2 separate regions of the Homo sapiens genome follow, and region 1 is linked to region 2. The links are contacts of gene promoters, found by promoter capture Hi-C in blood cells and fetal thymus (Javierre and others, 2016). All regions are on one chromosome and are shown on one strand. Each heading gives the region's core, a stretch centred on a gene start or on the middle of the fragment in contact. The rest is flanking DNA. Distances are from core to core; before and after follow the strand shown. Region 1 has its middle 10 kb from the start of PDIK1L. Region 2 holds the start of DHDDS (dehydrodolichyl diphosphate synthase subunit).

The links. The method cuts DNA at HindIII sites, captures the fragments that hold promoters and counts their contacts. A CHiCAGO score of 5 or more calls a contact.
Region 1: a fragment that was not itself captured here is called in contact with the fragment with the promoter of DHDDS in region 2 in 2 of 17 cell types (naive B cells and M2 macrophages); the score reaches 8.2 in naive B cells.

What each region holds. Positions count from the first base shown.
Region 1 is chr1:26,099,098-26,103,694 of GRCh38, forward strand. No RefSeq gene overlaps it. Among named protein-coding and RNA genes, the nearest start is that of PDIK1L, 10 kb to the right of the region's middle. The HindIII fragment of the contact is 1,917 bases long and covers 1,151-3,067 here.
Region 2 is chr1:26,430,860-26,435,558 of GRCh38, forward strand. It overlaps DHDDS (dehydrodolichyl diphosphate synthase subunit), which reads left to right and starts at 1,462. Exons shown (of 9, transcript NM_205861.3): 1 at 1,462-1,517; 2 at 2,032-2,149. The coding sequence starts at 2,087. LOC124903883 (a long non-coding RNA gene) reads right to left here and starts at 1,378. Exons shown (of 2, transcript XR_007065557.1): 1 at 1,114-1,378; 2 at 1-259. RefSeq lists enhancers at 681-1,217, 1,002-1,061, 1,132-1,191, 1,218-1,754, 1,292-1,781. The HindIII fragment of the contact is 8,751 bases long and covers 1-4,699 here.

The DNA of each region.
Region 1 (4,597 bases), core at 859-3,358, 330 kb before region 2:
TGAAATAAGCCAGACACAAAAAAATAAATACTGAATTATTCTATTCATATGAGGTACCTAGAATAGTCAAATTATAGAGACAGAAAGTAGAGGCTGGGTGCGGTGGCTCATGTCTGTAATCCCAGCACTATGGGAGGCCGAGGCTAGCAGATCTACCTGAGGTCAGGAGTTCGAGACCAGCCTGGCCAACATGGTGAAACCCCATCTCTACAAAAAATACAAAAAATTAGCCAGGTGTGGTGGCAGGCACATATAATCCCAGCTACTTGGGAGGCTGAGGCAGGAGAGTCGCTTGAACCTGGGAGGTGGAGGTTGCAGTGAGCTGAGATTGCGCCATTGCACTCCAGCCTGGGAGAAAAGAGTGAAACTCTGTCTTAAAAAAAAAAAAGTAAAATAGTGGTTATCCAGTTACCAGGGGCTGGGAAGAGAAGGAATGGAGAGTTATTGTTTAATGGATACAGAGTTGCAGTTTGGGATGATAAAAAAACCCCGAATGTCCGGGCTGGATGGTTCACACCTGTAATCCCAGCATTCTGGGAGGCTGAGGCAGGTGGATCACTTGAGGTCAGGAGTTCGAGACCAGCCTGGCCAACATGGTGAGACCTTGTCTCTACTAAAAATACAAAAATTAGCCAGACATGGTGGCACATGCCTATAGTCCCAGCTACTTGGGAGGCTGAGGCGGGAAGATTGTGTGAACCGGCAGGTGGGGGTTGCAGTGAGCTGAGATCACACCATTGCCCTCCAGCCTGGGAGACAGAACAAGACTTCATCTCAAACAATAATAATAAAAATAAAAGTTCTGGATGGTGGTGATGGTTGCACAACAATATAAATGTACTTAATGCCGTTGAACTATACAGTTAAAATGATTAAATCAGCAAATTTTATGTTACCTCTATTTTACCACAATTAAAAAAAAAATAGACCCTTGCTGACCTGTTGCTTTTATGCCCAAATCCATAACATGATCTACAAGACCCTACAGGATATCACCCCTGCTTGTGTAGGGGTTTTAAGGCTAAACCTTACAACTTATTCCCCCTCCAGTTGGGATCTGGACCTATTAGGAAATCCCAATGGCAATCAAGGCAATGGAGAGATAAAAATATGGGCCTTATTACTGATAAAGTTGGGCTTTGGAAGCAAAAGCTTGTATTTATACCCACAATGGAGCTTCCTAGTATCTTCCTCTCCCCATCGTTTCCCCCCAGCTCTTGATTTAAACTTCCAGCTGAGGCCTGCATAGAGCAGCTGGTACCGGCCGTCCTGAATGCCAAGCATGCTCCTCCCTCCGCTTCTCACTTAGCTCATTTCTGCCCCTCGGTCATTTCTTAGCATAAGTGTCACATGTGGCTGGGTGCATTGCCTCACGCCTGTAATCTCAGCACTTTGGGAGGCTGAGGCGGGCAGATCACTTGAGGCCAGGAGTTCGAGGCCAGGAGTTCAAGACCAGCCTGGCCAACATGGCGAAACCCCGTCTCTACTAAAAATACAAAAAATTAGCCAGGAGTGGTGGTGTGTGCCTGTAGTCCCAAGCTGTCTGTGAGGCTGAGGCAGGAGAATCACTTGACCCGGGAGGCAGAGGTTACAGTGAGCTGGGATCGCACTATTGCACTCCAGCCTGAGGAACGGAGTGGGACTGTCTCCAAAAAAAAAAAAGAAAAAAAAAAAAGGCCTCTGTCATATGCTCAGAGGCTTTCCGTGGCCCATACTACCTCCCTCCTCCCTGCCTCCTAATAAGTCTCATGCGCCCTAGAGCTTCTCCTGCATAGCGCTTTCCAGAACTGTATTTATGTGTCTCTTTCCATGATCATTGTGGGTGTAAATAAGAAGGCAAGTTTCATGAGAACAGGCACTGCGCTATGGTCTCCATGTGTCCCCCTAAAATTCATGTTAAAACTGAATTGCTAGTGTGATAAGAGGTAGGACCTTTAGTATGTGATTAAGTCATGAGGGTGGAGCCATCATGGGTAGGATTAGTGACCTTATAAAAAGCGTGCAAGGGGCCGGGCACGGTGGCTCATGCCTGTAATCCCAGCACTTTGTGAGGCCAAGGCAGGCAGATCACGAGGTCAATAGATTGAGACCATCCTGGCCAACATGGTGAAACTCCGTCTCTACTAAAAAAAAAAAAAAAAAAAAAAAATTAGCCAGGTGTGGTGGCACGTGCATGTAGTCCCAGCTACTCAGGAGGCAGAGGCAGGAGAATCACTTGAACCTGGGAGGCGGAGGTTGCAGTGAGCCGAGATTGTGCCACTGCACTCTAGCTTGGCAACAGAGCACGAATCCGTCTCAAAAAAAAAAAAAAAAAAAGATAAAAGGGGTGCAAGGGAGCTATTCATCCCTTTTTGCCCTTCCACTTCTGCCTTGTGAGGATGCAGCACCAAGCCACCATCTTGGAAGCAGAGACAGCAGCTCTCACCAGAGATGGAATCTACTGGCACCTTGATCTTGGTCTTCCCAGCTTCTAGGACTGGGGGAAGTAAATTTCTGTTGTTTATAAATTACCCAGTCTAAGGTATTTTGTTATAGCAGCATGAACAGACGAAGACACATTGTGTATGCCGTATGTTTCCTTCATGGCCACATCCCCAGTGCCTAGCACGGTGCCTGGCACTTTGGCTCCCATACACATTGCAGAATATTCCATTCACTAGCACTCCTCTCCAGGAGAGTTCTGTATACTGTTGGAAGACAAATGTGGATAAGGCTTGGGGCTGGGAGGTCAGGGGCCAGCCTAAGTAATATTCGCAGCTACATGAATTAGCGGGCCTTGTGGAGTCTACAGGTTTGTCCAGGGTCCAGGAGGTCAGGACCATCGAGAGGCTAAGTGTGGTTATCTGTGCCTCCTTCCCAGCCCCTGCTCTAAATAACCATAGAGCAAATATTTGAAGAATGTCAGCTTAAAGGAGTGTCTCACTCTGACCCTCAAATTTCTATTTATTTTTTAAATTGACAAAAATTGTATTTATTTACTCATATGTACAACATGATGCTTTGAAATATGAATACATTGTGGAATGGCTAAATTTAAGGCCCAGTGTAAATGCTACCTCCTCTCTAAAGCTTTCCTGCCCGCCATTCCCCTCCACAGAAGCACAGTTTGGATTTCCTCCCCTGGGCTATGTAACCTCAGCTGGCACTGGTTGAATTGTACTGTCTGCATATTTATATGTCTGTCTCCCCTCCCAGAGAAAGTCCATGAGGGCAGGGACCTTATCTTTCTGTTCACTGCTTTTTCTCAGCATCAAGCACAATTTCTTGCACGTGGTGGATATTCACCAAATAGCTGTTGACTTAACGAACAAAGTGCCACCATGTGCCAGGCACTAGTTGACTTCTGAAGAGAGGGGTATATGTCAAGACATTTGTTAGCCACCCACCAGCCTCTGAATTTAAGCCTGCCAGTAAGCCCCATCCTTCAGGACACAGAGCTTGGTCAAGGAGGGGCCCACAACCCTATCTCTTACCCCCTACTCCCTAGCCCCTAGCCAATCAGGTCCAACAAGACTTAATTTCAGGAATGTTGTTTGAGGAATAGAGAAGTTGACTTTCTCATTCCTGCAGGATATGATCTCATAAGGCTGAATTCCCACTGGTGACCCCGAGGCCCACAAGGGAAGCCAGCCTTAAGATGAAGGCAGCATCATGGGAGGCAGAACAGAGGAAACTAGAGTCTTTGGTGACATGTGAGCTGCTGAATCAAACTTCCTTCCCGAAGCTAGCCCTCCCACCTCCATTTCTCTTAGGTAAATGTACCAATCATTCCTTTCAGTCACTTTGAGTTGAGTTTCTGCTCTTGCAACATGAAGCATCCAGAAGAGGCCAGAGAATCAGAGGAAGCCGAAGCTTTAACACTTCAGGACCTGCTGAGGAGTCGGGTGAATCCTCAGTTTGGGACACTCCCAACACCCCCATCCAGCATGGTTTTCAGATGGTGGCATCCCCAGCAGCTCTTGGACCCAGGGGCAGGAGATGTGAACCTGGGTCTTAACCATCAGCTGCTCCAGCTGTTCTCAGTCCTCACCAAGAAGACAACTAGGACCCATCCAAAGACAAAAACAGCTAATGTTATACCTGGTGCAAGACCTTTGTGGGCCCCCAGATCACTTGTCTCAGGGGCTGGATCAGAAATAAACATTTTGATCTTCTTATTACAAGCATAGTGGAGGTGTAGGATTCAAGAATCAGAGTGTTGGAGCTATAAGGATCCTTAGAGATGAGCTGGTCAGACCCCCTCATTTTGCAGATGGGGAGACTGAGGCCCACAGCAGGGGGGAGTCTTTCTTGCTCAAGATGACACAGCGTGTTAGTGCCAAAGCTAATACCCTTCCTAAAGGAGTTTCTCCCTCAGCCTCCCCCTGCAGAAATGGGGCTGGGGTGGCTGGGCACAGTGGCTCACGCCTATAATCCCAACACTTTGGGAGGCCGAGGTGGGTGGATCACCTGAGGTCAGGAGTTCGAGACCAGCCTGGCCAATATGGCAAAACCCCATCTCTATCAAAAATACAAAAATTAGCCAGGCATGGTGGCGCATGCCTATGATCCTAGCTACGCAGGAGGCTCAGGCAGGAGAATCGCTTGAACCCAGGAG
Region 2 (4,699 bases), core at 212-2,711:
GCCTGTAATTCCAGCACTTTGGAAGGTCTAGGCAGGCAGATAACGAGGTCAAGAGATCAAAACCATCCTGGCCAAAATGGTGAAACCCTGTCTCTACTAAAAATACAAAAATTAGCCAGGCTTGGTGGCACGCGCCTGTAGTCCCAGCTACTCAGGAGGATGAAGCAGGAGAAACGCTTGAACCCGGGAGGCGGAGGCTGCAGTGAGCCGAGATCGCGCCACTGCACTCCAGCCTGGGCGACATAGCCAGACTCCGTCTCTAAATAAATAAATAAATAAATAAATAAATAAAAATAATACTGGTTGTATAAGAATCTGTAAAGAATTTTTTCCTCCTCTTTCAATTTTGAGAAAATTGAACTACAAATTTGTTTTGTGAGCCTAGAATTCTTGCAACCCTTTTTTTCGTAAAGGTTCAGTAGAGCTAATGCCCTTAACTTTTCTACCAGGGTTAATTTCTGTTATTTTCATTTATGTACTGCCAAAGCGAGCACCTTTCTGTTATTTTAGAAGTCATGCTTTTTTTTTTTTTCTTTTTTCAGACAGAGTTTCGCTCCTGTTGCCCAGGCTGGAGTGCAGTGGCCTGATCTTGGCTCACCGCAACCTCCGCCTCCCGGGTTCAAGCGATTCTCTTGCCTCACCCTCCCGAGTAACTGGGATAACAGGCGCCCGCCACCACGCCCGGCTCATTTTCTGTATTTTTAGTACAGACGGGGTTTCACGATGTTGGTCAGGCTGGTCTCAAACTCCTGACCTCAGGTGATCCGTTCGCCTCGGCCTCCCAAAGTGCTGGGATTACAGGCGTGAGCCACCGCGCCTGGCCTAGAAGTCATTCTTATGGCAGAAATCTTTCTGGCCTTACCCCTTCTCTTGAGTTCGTTGGGATAGGTCTTGGGAATCCACAAATCCTAAAATATGCGTGCCTTAAGTCGGCACAAAATAGATTAATATTCTGCGCGTCTGTAAGATTGGCTGCGGCTAGAAACTCCTTCCCAGACGATTAAATCCACTAAATAAAATACGAAACGGTAACGAGATAATTTTTAAGAGTATGCACCAGTGCTCTAATGAAGCCCGGTTCTGCGGCATTCCAAGGTAAGGACGCTGCCTTACCCAGTCTCTCAGCAGTCCTAAGCTGCCTTCGACGGCCGAGAAGCGCCTCGATTCTTGCCCCTGGCTCATTTCCCTGGCGCGTTTTCCAGACGCCTCCGCTCCCAACGCTGGGCTCAACCCTGTCTTCCCCAGCTGGTCTCCCAGCACGTGGCCTGGAGCCCAGCCTCCCGCCCCGCTCGGTCACGTGAGCCTGGCTCTCACCCGCGCCGGCTTCCACACCCCGCGGGACTGAGAACCGCCCTCCCACTAGCTCGCAGGCGCAGGCGCAGGGCAGGGTCCCCTCAGTTTGGGTGACGGAAGGGGCGTGTCGCAGCGCCCAAAGATGACGTGTTCTGCCAGCGCCACGTCATGAGGAAGTGCCGGCCCACTGAAGCCGTGGGGACGCGCCCAGCGGAGCTAATCAGGTGCCACTGAACTGAAGGGGTGAACTAGAGGAGAAGAGGGTGACTGGGCGGGGAGCAGCTGCGGGAGAAGCAAAGGGACGACTGAGGGAATAATCAGGAGACCACTGAGGCGTGAAGTACTAGGCGTGCGATAACTGAAGGAGTTAGTAACTGGGAGCACAGAGTTGGAAACAGCTTAGGGGAAGATGGAGAAGGAAGAAACGGGGAATGATCAAGATGTGGGCACCATGATGTGGCAGGAAACCGACTTAGATGTTCAGAAGAAGTCAGTGCAGATACGGAGGAAATGGGAATGGGAAGAAGTCTGCAAAGCCAGGAGAACCGAGGAAAGGCTTTTGCCTCCAGAGGTCACATTGCGTTATAAAACTCTGGGTGGTAAAAGATTATAGGCTTAGACCAGTGTCTTTGGATTCTAATGCTGGCTGCTCTCCATAGTCCATCTGATTCCCCAGAAGTCAGTTATAGCTCTTCGCAAACCTTGGTGACTTCTTATTTTCTTTCTTGTTTATCCAAGATTACCTGGCTGGTGTTTGCTTGTTCTGGAGTGATCTTCTGACTGGAAAAGAACTATGTCATGGATCAAGGAAGGAGAGCTGTCACTTTGGGAGCGGTTCTGTGCCAACATCATAAAGGTGAGCAATGGCCCAGAGCACCGGTTGGCCTTCTGGTCAGTTGGATAATCTTATATAAAAACCTGTTATTAAAGTTGATGATGTTAAGTGCAATTCATGATGTTAAGTGGAATTTAGCAAGGAAACCAAAGAGTCTTAGAATGGTAACTTCCAGGTCTACATTTCTGGTAGACTTTTGTCCTAACTCTGATATTTTCTGGAAGCCCAGGCCTCTTAATGTCACTGGGCAGCCTAGACTGCTAAGTATTCTTTATAGAGAACTGAAATTTGTTTCCCTGGAACATTGATCCATTGTTCCATGTACTGTCTTCTTGATTTAAATAGGTTAATCTTTGATATATTCTTTGATCTGTCAGTAGAGCTGGGCCCGGTCACTCACGCCTGTAATCCCAGCAATTTGGGAGGCTGAGGTGGGCAGATTGTTTGAGCTCAGGAGTTGAGACCAGCCTGGGCAACATGGCAAAACCCCGATTCTCCAAAAAATTAAAAAAATAGCAGGGCTTGGTGGTGTGCACCTGTAGTCCCAGCTACTCGGAAGGCTGAAGTGGGAGAATTTCTTGAGCCCAGGTCAAAGCTGCAGTGAGTCATGATTGTGCCACCACACTCCAGCCTGGGTGACAGAACGGGACTGTCTCAAAAAAAAGAGTTCAGAACAAGACTCTGTCTCAAAAAAAAAAAAAAAAAAAGAGTTTGGGCTCTAGACGCAGACAAACATGGGTGAAATTCCTGTTCTTTTTTTTATTTTGAGATGGAGTCTCGCTCTGTCGCCCAGGCTGGAGTGCAATGGCGCAATCTTGGCTTACTGCAACCTTCATCTGCCAAGTTCAAGCAATTCTCTTGCCTTAGCCTCCCAAGTAGCTGGGGTTACAGGCATATGCTACCACACATGGCTAATTTTTATATTTTTAGTAGAGATGGGATTCTCATATTGGCCAGGCTGGTCTCGAACTCCTGACCTCAGGTGATCCACCTATCTCAGCCTCCCAAAGTGCTGGGATTATAGGACTGAGCCACTGCACCTGGCCTGAAAGTCCAGTTCTATCATTTAGTAATCATGTGACTTTAACAACTGTAGAATTATCATGAGAATTTATGAGACATTAATATAAAGCAGTTAGCATAATGTCTAGCAGTTCTTAATTATTATTAGGATTGTCTTTCAGACATTTGAAGACTATTATCTCCTATCTTCCCCAAATCTTCCCTCAGCTTTTTCTCTAGGAATCACAGCAATATTATATCTGCCTAAGACAGGTTTGAGATTGGGGCCAGTCAGCTTGGTTTTGTTTTTCAACCACAGGCTGTCAAGCAGCAGGTAGTAATGAATTTATGAGTCAGTAACCTTTATACAAGCCCCACACATGCTCACAAACAAATGCCAAGTGATCTCAAGCAGTCCAGGAAATGGGAAGTATCTCCTTGGGGAACCACTGCAGTGGTATGTTTGGAAGAACAAGCTGCATAACTTGAATGGATTTTGGGGGCTGGAAAGGCTGTATGTGAGACAGAAGTAGAAAAAGGAGAAGTGTTGATGAGGAAGCAGTCAGGGAAGAGCCCTCCCAGGTGAGGAAAAATAGGCTAAGGAGTCCATTTGTGTTATGGGAGACAACTCAAAGCTGCTCCAAGCCAAATAAGGGTTTTGTTTTTTGTGGTTTCTTTTTTGAGATGCAGTCTTACTCTGTTGCCCAGGCTAGAGTGCAGTGGTGCAGTCTTGGCTTACTGCAACCTCTGTCTCCTGGGTTCAAGCGATTCTCCCACCTCAGCCTCCCCAAGTAGCTGGGATTATAGGCACCGGCCACCATGCCTGGCTAATTTTTTTTTTTTTTTTTTTTAGTAGAGTTGGGGTTTCACCATGTTGGCCAGGCTGGTCTCGAACTCCTGGCCTCAAGTGATCTGCCCACCTCAGCCTCCTAAAGTACTGGGATTACAGGCTTGAGCCACCACGTCCGGCCCCAAGTAAGTTTTGTTTGGCTCAAAAAAAGTCTTTTTTGTTTGCTTTGAAAAACAATTTTTTTTTTTCAGACAGAGTCTCACTCTGTCGCCCAGGCTGGAGTGCAGTGGCACAATCTCAGCTCACTGTACCCTCTGCCTCCCCGGTTCAAACAATTCTCCTGCCTCAGCCTCCCGAGTAGCTGGGATTACAGGCGCTCGCCACCACGCCCGGCTAATTTTTCTTTATTTTTAGTAGAGACAGGGTTTCACCATTTTGGCCAGGCTGGTCTTAAACTCCTGACCTCGTGATCCACCCGCCTCGGCCTCCCAAAGTGCTGGGATTACAGGCATGAGCCACTGCGCCCGGCTGAAAAGCAAAATTTTAATAAAAATCCTGATGTTTGGTTTTCTTGCAAGATCACCAGATCCAGCAATGTTGTGCCCCAGTTCCTGTGTGTCAGCAGTTGGCTAGAGGTCAGGAATTAGTGCCTTTTTTTTTTTTTTTTTTTTTTTTTGAGACAGAGTCTTACTCTGTCACCCAGGCTGGAGTGCAGTGGTGCTATCTCGGCTCACTGCAACCTCTGCCTCCCGGGTTCAAGCCATTCTCCTGCTTCAGCC